3 separate regions of the Homo sapiens genome follow, and all the other regions are linked to region 3. The links are contacts of gene promoters, found by promoter capture Hi-C in blood cells and fetal thymus (Javierre and others, 2016). All regions are on one chromosome and are shown on one strand. Each heading gives the region's core, a stretch centred on a gene start or on the middle of the fragment in contact. The rest is flanking DNA. Distances are from core to core; before and after follow the strand shown.

What was found. Contacts are between HindIII fragments. The CHiCAGO score rates a contact against its expected background, and 5 or more counts as called.
Region 1: a contact is called between the fragment with the promoter of IRF1 here and the fragment with the promoter of ZCCHC10 in region 3, in 1 of 17 cell types (monocytes). The highest score is 7.2, in monocytes.
Region 2: a contact is called between the fragment with the promoter of CARINH here and the fragment with the promoter of ZCCHC10 in region 3, in 2 of 17 cell types (neutrophils and monocytes). The highest score is 6.3, in neutrophils.

The regions. Positions count from the first base shown.
Region 1 is chr5:132,489,338-132,492,037 of GRCh38, reverse strand. It overlaps IRF1 (interferon regulatory factor 1), which reads left to right and starts at 1,265. Exons shown (of 10, transcript NM_002198.3): 1 at 1,265-1,493; 2 at 2,555-2,646. The coding sequence starts at 2,560. RefSeq lists enhancers at 14-63, 104-313, 1-450, 584-723, 1,745-2,392 and silencers at 864-1,313, 1,574-1,853, 2,384-2,433. The HindIII fragment of the contact is 1,939 bases long and covers 775-2,700 here.
Region 2 is chr5:132,409,509-132,412,208 of GRCh38, reverse strand. It overlaps CARINH (colitis associated IRF1 antisense regulator of intestinal homeostasis), which reads right to left and starts at 1,280. Exons shown (of 4, transcript NR_161242.1): 1 at 1,168-1,280. RefSeq lists silencers at 982-1,271, 1,342-1,641 and an enhancer at 1,882-1,931. The HindIII fragment of the contact is 5,230 bases long and covers 1-2,700 here.
Region 3 is chr5:133,025,199-133,027,898 of GRCh38, reverse strand. ZCCHC10 (zinc finger CCHC-type containing 10) reads left to right here and starts at 1,350. Exons shown (of 5, transcript NM_001300816.3): 1 at 1,350-1,402. The coding sequence starts at 1,362. RefSeq lists a silencer at 1,071-1,200 and an enhancer at 1,281-1,590. The HindIII fragment of the contact is 6,187 bases long and covers 1-2,695 here.

The sequences.
Region 1 (2,700 bases), core at 16-2,515, 540 kb after region 3:
AAAATGAACACCCAGTCAAGTCTCTAGGACTATACGTGGGGCGGGGACTAGTTGTGCGCGAGAGTTAAGTAGGGGCCTTACCAAGGAGCATGGGACCTGGGCTCCCCAACCCTTTGGCTAGCCCCATGGCGTTGATCAGCCCTGAGCTAATTCCTCCATGCTGCCCAGAACCTCTCTGGGCCAAGCCCTGGGGACTCAGAGATGACAGCAATGCTTCCATTGCGGAACTCCCATACGCGGGCCACAGGGAGGCTCTGGAGGCGGCCTGAGGCAAGAGTGCTAGGAGGGATCAGAGCTAGCCCACCCCTACCCTCACTCAGCCGTCTGGGCTTCTCTGAACCCCTTCTCCTCCTCTGTTCCCTAAAGCCAGCCAGGGGGAGTCCCAGGGAGGCAGACCGAAAAGGGGTGGGGTGTCATCCTGGTCACTATTAGACCCTGCAACGGCGACCTTGAAAACTACTCAGCGTCTGTTGCCCGAGTGGAGCATAGTGCTTTACAATCTCTTCCCATCACAGCAAACCATCAAGGTAGGGCTACTATTATTTTATGGTTGAAAAACAGAGGTCCTGCGTCCCTTGGGGGCTGTGCCAGCAGCGGCCAAGTTGGGATTTCCCCTGGTCCAGCAGCCCCAGACAGCACACGGGGCAGGGTAGGCTTTCTGCCTTCTTCACTTCCCCAGGGCAGGTGAGTGACCTGGAGGGAGGGGGTCACCCCTAAAAACAGGGGTAGTGCTAGGACTGAAACCCTCCCTTCTTGATATCCCACTGGCAAGCTTGAGGAGCCAGGCTGCCAGTCGGGAGATTCGGCCCAGTGTTCCCACTGGAGAGGGCGGCAAGTGCCCGGGCGATCCCCTCACCTGCGTTCGGGAGATATACCCCCGCCCCCGCCCCGCCAGGAGGGTGAAAAGATGGCCCCAGGAGCCAGCCGGCTGGGACAAGGCGGAGTGAGAGGACAGGCTGGGGCCAGGGGCGCTGGGCTGTCCCGGGCAGCCCTCCTCCGGGCAAGCCGGAGCAGGGGTGGATTGGGAGCGCTCGGGGCGGGCCCGCGGTGGCCCCGGGGCGGTGGCGCCCGGCCGGAGAGGGTGGGGCGGAGCAGCCGCCCTGTACTTCCCCTTCGCCGCTAGCTCTACAACAGCCTGATTTCCCCGAAATGACGGCACGCAGCCGGCCAATGGGCGCCCGCGCGGCTGTCCGGGGGCGGGGCCGGCCAGGGCTGGGGAATCCCGCTAAGTGTTTGGATTGCTCGGTGGCGCCGCTGCCCTGGCAGAGCTCGCCACTCCTTAGTCGAGGCAAGACGTGCGCCCGAGCCCCGCCGAACCGAGGCCACCCGGAGCCGTGCCCAGTCCACGCCGGCCGTGCCCGGCGGCCTTAAGAACCCGGCAACCTCTGCCTTCTTCCCTCTTCCACTCGGAGTCGCGCTCCGCGCGCCCTCACTGCAGCCCCTGCGTCGCCGGGACCCTCGCGCGCGACCGCCGAATCGCTCCTGCAGCAGAGGTGAGTACGCCTTTGAGGCGCGGGGCACCGGCGGCGTCGAATAAAAGGCGCGCGGGGCACCAGGAAGTGGGGGGTCGAAAGCTCCAGGCTGGAGACTCGCCGGCGCGCGGCGTTGCCCGGGCCTCCGCGCGGGCTCCGGGGGGCGCCGGAGGAGCTGCGAGCCGCGGGCCGCGGCGCGGGGAGGGCGGGACGCGGCGTGGACCGCCCACCCGGACGAGGCTGCCGGCGCCCGGCAGCTTTCGCAGATCTGCGTGCGCGCAGCCGCCAGGGGCCTGTAGGTGGCCCGCTATGTTCGTCCCGCGCATCCACACGCCGTGCCGGGGACCGAGTGTCAGCCCACGCGTGGGCGCCCAGTGCTCCCGGCTTTCGGCGGTCCCAGCTCCGCGCCCAGGCGACAGGTTTTGGGCTCCCTGTGCTGGTGGCAAGGGCTGGCTTACTGCCCAGGTGGCTGGAGGGAATCGTGACCTACGGAGACTGCGGGAAGAGGCGCCACAGGTGTTCCTTGGGCCACTTCTCCAGAGGAGGGGAAACCGGGCCGGAAGGGTTAGCGTCCTGGTCTTAGCGTTGTGGGCGCTGTGGCTGTCAGGAAGGCGTAGAATGGATTCAGGGGGGCGGGAGGGGGCTGTTCAGGGTGACGGCTAGCCCTTTGCTAGCTAGTGGTTACAACTCAAGTCAAGGGAATTTCTTCTTGGCATCAAGCAAAAGAAGTCCCTCCCTTCCCAAAGGATTTGAATTTTGAGCGAAAAGTTCTGAAATTAGGGTATCTGTGCATTTTGTCTCTTTTCCTGCATATGAATCCTGAAGCCATCACTTGCATGCCTGTCTCCTCCAGAGACTGGCTGGGAGGGGCTGAAGGAAGGGGCAAAAGCATTTTTGCCTAAGATGCTGAAAAAATTTGGAGAGCAGTTTTATTCCAGCGCAGCTCCCCTCCGCACTGAGTGTAGTACCTAGCAGCTGGCTGAGGTGAGGGGAGGGTAACTAAGTGACCTCGGGTGGGGCAGGTCACTGCCCAGGTACTGTTCAACAGATTCCAGACTGGAGCCTCTGTGTTCTCTTTACAGCCAACATGCCCATCACTCGGATGCGCATGAGACCCTGGCTAGAGATGCAGATTAATTCCAACCAAATCCCGGGGCTCATCTGGATTAATAAAGTGAGTGTAACTCTTTGGGTTTTCCTGCCACTGTTTTAACCCATGTACTTCTGG
Region 2 (2,700 bases), core at 31-2,530, 620 kb after region 3:
GCGGACTCCATGTTTTGAAACTTAGGAACTTAGACCATCTTTTGTCAAATTCAGATGGTTTTCTCAAAGTAAAGATCATTCAAGTTTTGTTTCAGTAATGGGCCGTATGATCAGATCTGTGTGATTAGGCTGAATTCATTATTATTGAGACAAAAATTGAGTTAAAGGGGATTCTTGGTATTGGCCTGCAAAACCTGTCATAACTTAAATGTAAAGTTTCTGATGATTTAGTCACTTTACTCTCAGCTCTTAGCTCTTTCACTCACCTGTCCTTGTTCTACACAACCTGCCTGATGGGTAACTTGAATACATATTTTCTCTCTTCAGGGGATGGGAACGCCCTAAGGGCAGGGGCTGTTTCCACAGCCCTGGGGTGGAACCCCCTTCCTGCATACCAAGAATGAGTTGGCTATACTTGACGAAGGGCAAAGACAAGGTGGCACGCATCTTTCATGCTTCTGCTGGCAGATGCAGTGGACTGGAAATTTCCTGGTCTGGGAAGGACTCGGTCTGTGAGTGCACCTATCCCTGACATCTATGCTAGCCCCGGGATGGGGGCCCCAGCAGAGTAAGGCCCTGACTTCACATGGACAGGGCCAGGGCAAGGGGGCCACATCCTGGCCTAGTTGCTCTCCATGCCCGTGATCAAGGGAGATGAGCTGCCAGCTTGCTCGGTCAAGGAACACTTGGAAGGCACTCCAAGTGCCCCCAGGTGCACCAGATCTAGGAAACTTAAGCAAACTACATGAGGTATGGGGTGGGGCCCAGTGGGAAAAATGAGTCTGACAGGTCAGAGGGAGTAGATTATGAGCTCAGGTTAGGCATTCTGTTCAGCATTTTACGTACACCCTCCCACTTTTGATTTTTACCAACACCCAGGGAGGTCGGTGCTCTACAAAAGGGAAAGGCGTGCTCAGGTGGCCCGACTTGCCACGGTTCCAGCTCGACCCCGGGCTGCTAGCCCCTTGGCACGCTTGTCTGAGGCCTCCCAGGTCTTCCAGCCTGGCCTGGAGGCTCAAAGCCACGAAACCCAAGGGTGCCGCTTCTCAGGCCCTCCCCGCCCCCACGGCAGAACCCCTGACCCTGCCCGGGTCAAACGCCTGGCGTCGGGCCCGCCGGGTCCGCAAGGAGGAGCCCGCGAGGCGGCCGCGAAGGGGCTGTGCTTACCTCGCCCGGCGCGGGTTGCGGCCCCAGGGCCCGCGCTCCAGGCTGGCGGCCGCTGCATTCTGCGCCCCTCGCCTGAAACGGCAGCTGCGCCAGTCCTGGCCACGACCGCTTTCATTTTCCTCAACGACATCGGCAGGAAAGCGAAAGCGAAACCCTCCGGGAGGCGGGACCGGGGCCGAGCGCGCAGTGAACGCGGGGCGCGCGGCGGGCGCGGGCCGGCAGCCAGAGGCGGGGGCCCCGGGCTCGGGTCTGCGCGTGGCCTGGCCCGGTGGCGTTCGGGGTGGAGCTGGGCCAGCCGAGTGCCCGAGAGCTAGTCCGCCACGCACACCTGCCTCGGCGGGACCCGGGCCCGGGCTGGGCGGGAGGCTGGGCAGGCCCGCCGTAAGTGGAAAGGCGCCCGCGGCGCTTCGGCCGACCGGGACAGGTTCCTCCATCTGCCCTTCATTCAGCGTTTACTTGGGCCTGTGGCTGGCAGCCGGCCCGGGACCTGACCGCTGGCGGCGCCTCGGGCTCTGGCCTGAGGAGGCAGATGGCAGCCTGAGCAACTGGGACCAAGCCTCTGAGGAGTCCCCGTTGGAGGGGACTTGACCATGAGGTACCAGGCATCTCATCTGGGGTCAGCGGAGAACCCAAAAGTCAATGACGTCGGTGAAATGGGGGTCCCTTCATCCGATAAGAGAAACTGGAACAGCAAGCCTATGGTTTGGACTCCCTGGTCTAAGCGGTGCCCATCAATATCTAAACATTTAGAGATTCCAGGTTTCAGTGTCTGGCCGTCTCTTACTGTCAGTGATTTGGGGCAAAATATTCAAGTAGTTAGACTTAATTACTTCCCCTGTGGGATGGGAATAATAATAATCATACCTACTGCCAGAATTTTAGGAATGAACAATAGAAGGAAGAAAATACTTAAAATTTTCTGACAGCCTCTAAGTGGGTTCCTTGAGGGCAGCAACCAAGTCATTTACCTGGATGCTTGATAGACATTCTCTAATGGCCAGTCCATCAACTTGGAGCTATCTCCATGATAACAGGTTAGTTGTCAAAGTTTGGACAATATTATCTGGAGTTTAAAGACTGAGGAAGCCCTGCAATTTTTTTTGGAAGGTGTCTGAAACTTAGCCTGACAATTAGCCCCCACAATTATGCCACGGAACCAGGTTTTTGTTAGAGTGGAGCATGGCCACAACGTTTGATGGACATTCCTACAGCGGTGTTCAGCGCTGGCCACTGAGGTCTGAAAATACTTTTGCAAGCATTTCTATTCACTTGCTTTTAGAAAACATTGGTAAGACACCATACTCCAAACACAGTTTGCCCTGTCTGTACGTTTGTTGCAAAGCAAACATAAAAGTTTTTGCCATAGAGCAAACACAGAGCAGTCTGTTATAACTGGAACAAGAAACCAAAATGAGCTATTAAATCTGCCCAGAGTCACTTTGGTTTACCTGTTTGTAATTTGGGCACATTCCCTGCAAGATGGAGGCCCTGGTCTGTGACTGATGTAGGGGCTTGTATGTGTCCTTGCAATAG
Region 3 (2,700 bases), core at 101-2,600:
TACAGGCGTGAGCCACTGCGCCTGGCCGGGAAAACATTTTCATAAGTACACTGAGGAATGAAAAAATCAAGCTGGAGAACACAACATGTAAGAGCCTATTTTTTTGAAGAACAAGTTGTGCTCAAAGGTCACATCATCACCTTCCCTAACTCCTAATCACTCTTTAATCCCTTACTCTGAAATATTTTTCGTTAGAGTACTTATGCCCATGAGAATAGTCTTCATTCATTGTCTGTAGAAAGTTCCATGTGTACACGGATTTTATTTGTTCAAATGCTCTGTCCTCAGCTCCTAAAACATTTTAAGTGTTAATTATTAATTGAAAAAATATGGCTGGGCGCGGTGGCTCACGCCTGTAATCCCAGCACTTTAGGAGGCCGAGGCGGGCGGATTATGAGGTCAGGAGATCGAGACCATCCTGGCCAACATGGTGAAACCCTGTCTCTAGTAAAAATACAAAAATTAGCTGGGCATGGTGGCGCGTGCTTGTCATCCCAGCTATTCGGGAGTGTGAGACAAGAGAATCTCTTGAACCAGGGACCCAGAGGTTGCACTGAGCCGAGATCGCGCCACTGCACTCCAGCCTGGCGACACAGCGAGACTCTGTCTCAAATTAAAAAAAAAAGGAAAAAATATGGATGACCCAGAAACACACACACACTTCAGAAAATTATATATATTTCAGAGAACGTGGGTTTTAAGAGAATAATAGCTCCGTGAGCTGACATTAGATGTAGGTGCAGCTAAAATATTCTAAAATATTTGTATAGTCCTTTTCTGCTTGATAAAGCAGCTTTAGTTATACAGTCCCATTTAGTACTCGTAACAACGCTGTGAAATACATAAAAAACAGAAATAACGTATATGTTTGCACTCCATGGCTTGCTAAAGTCATTCTTTCAATTGATGGTCTCAATCCTGGTCAACTAATTCCTTTCTATTCTCCAGACTACTTCTAGTTTTCTGAACACCAAAGTTTCATTCTTTGTCTTTGTATGTGTATCCCTCGTTCGAGAATGTTGTCCTCATTTTCCACAGATAATGTTCTTGCCTGTAATCATCCTTTGAAACCCTGTTCGGCCCGAGAACCCGAGACCCATACTGGAGACACCGGCCCCTCCCGACCCACCAGTCCCTCCCGTCCCGACCCTCCAGCCCCTCCAGCCCCTCCCCTCCCGACCCTCCAGCCCCTCCCCTCCCGACCCTCCAGCCCCTCCCCTCCCGACCCACCAGCCGGCACTAAGATACCTCCCCTTAGAAGCCTGTCTGGCCCCGCCTACGTCTACGGCCTCCCGGTTGGAAGCCCCGCCCTTCCGAGGAGTTTCCCAAAACCCTGCGCGGCCGGCTTTGACCGCGCTAAGATGGCGACTCCCATGCATCGGCTAATAGCCCGGAGACAAGCGTAAGTAAGGATCCGGTTCGGGTCCACTGGAGGGCTGGGAGCGGGGAAACGCGCGTCAACGGGCTGGTGTCGGACCCCTATTGGGACCGGCGGAGAATGTCCGTTTCTCAAACACTCTTCTGGCTCCCGGGGGGCTCGGGCCCGGGCGATAAGTCTGGTGACCGGGGGTTAGCGATTTCGCGGAAGACAGCCGCGTAAAGTCTGCGGCACGGGACAGAGCGGGGTTTGAAGACAACTGTCGCGTTTGGTTTCTCTGAAAGGAACGCCCACAGTTGGTCACTCAGTGATTTATGCCCCTCCGCCAACCCCACGCGTGGACAGGGGAGCCCTGAAGCCCCGGTCCGACACCTTTATTCCAGCCGACGTAAACCTTCAGTTTCCTATTCAGTGTCCAGCCCAGCTGCCTTTTCCTACTTCCTTATTCTAGCGCCTTCCTTAGGAACACCCTGCCTTCAATGCCGATTGCTTTCCCAGGCTATCTTACCACCTTTTGCTACTCATTCTCTCTTTCAATAAATATTAATTTATTTAGTTCCTACCGTTCTGTGCCAGACATTGGGTATAAATAGAGGTGTTCAAGACAAAATCCTTGCTTTCAGAGAGCTTACATTCTAGTGATGGAAACAGTCGATAAACCACAAATTGTAAATACAGCTGGTGATAACAGCTTTGAAGGAAGTAAGCTGTTGTGATGGAAAGAGGGAAAGGCCCACTTTAGGTTGGTTGGACTGGAAAGGCATCTCTGAAGAGGTGGAATTTGAACAGAGATTTAAAGGATGAAAAAGGAACAGTCATACGAGGATTTTGAGAAAGAGCATCCGGATAGTGGCATAATTGCTTTGAGCCTGAAACTTACTTTTTACAGAACTGAAAGATAGCCATTACGCCTAATGAACAAGAGAGAGTGGCAGAAGAGATTCATAGCTGACAAATAATGCAAGGGTCACCCCAGATGCCCCTTTCTTTTTTTTTTTTTTTTTTTTTTTTTTTTTTGAGGCGGAGTCTTGCTCTGTCTCCCAGGCTGGAGTGCAGAGGTGCAATCTTGGCTCACTGCAAGCTCCGCCCCCCGGGTTCACGCCGTTCCCCTGCCTCAGCCTCCCGAGTAGCTGGGACTACAGGCGCCCGCCACCATGCCCGGCTGGTTTTTTGTATTTTTAGTAGAGATGGGGTTTCACCGTGTTAGCCAGGATGGTCTCGATCCCCTGACCTCGAGATCCGCCCGCCTTGGCCTCCCAAAGTGCTGGGATTACAGGCGTGAGCTACCGCGCGCGGCAACCCCTTTCTTATAAAGCTTTTTT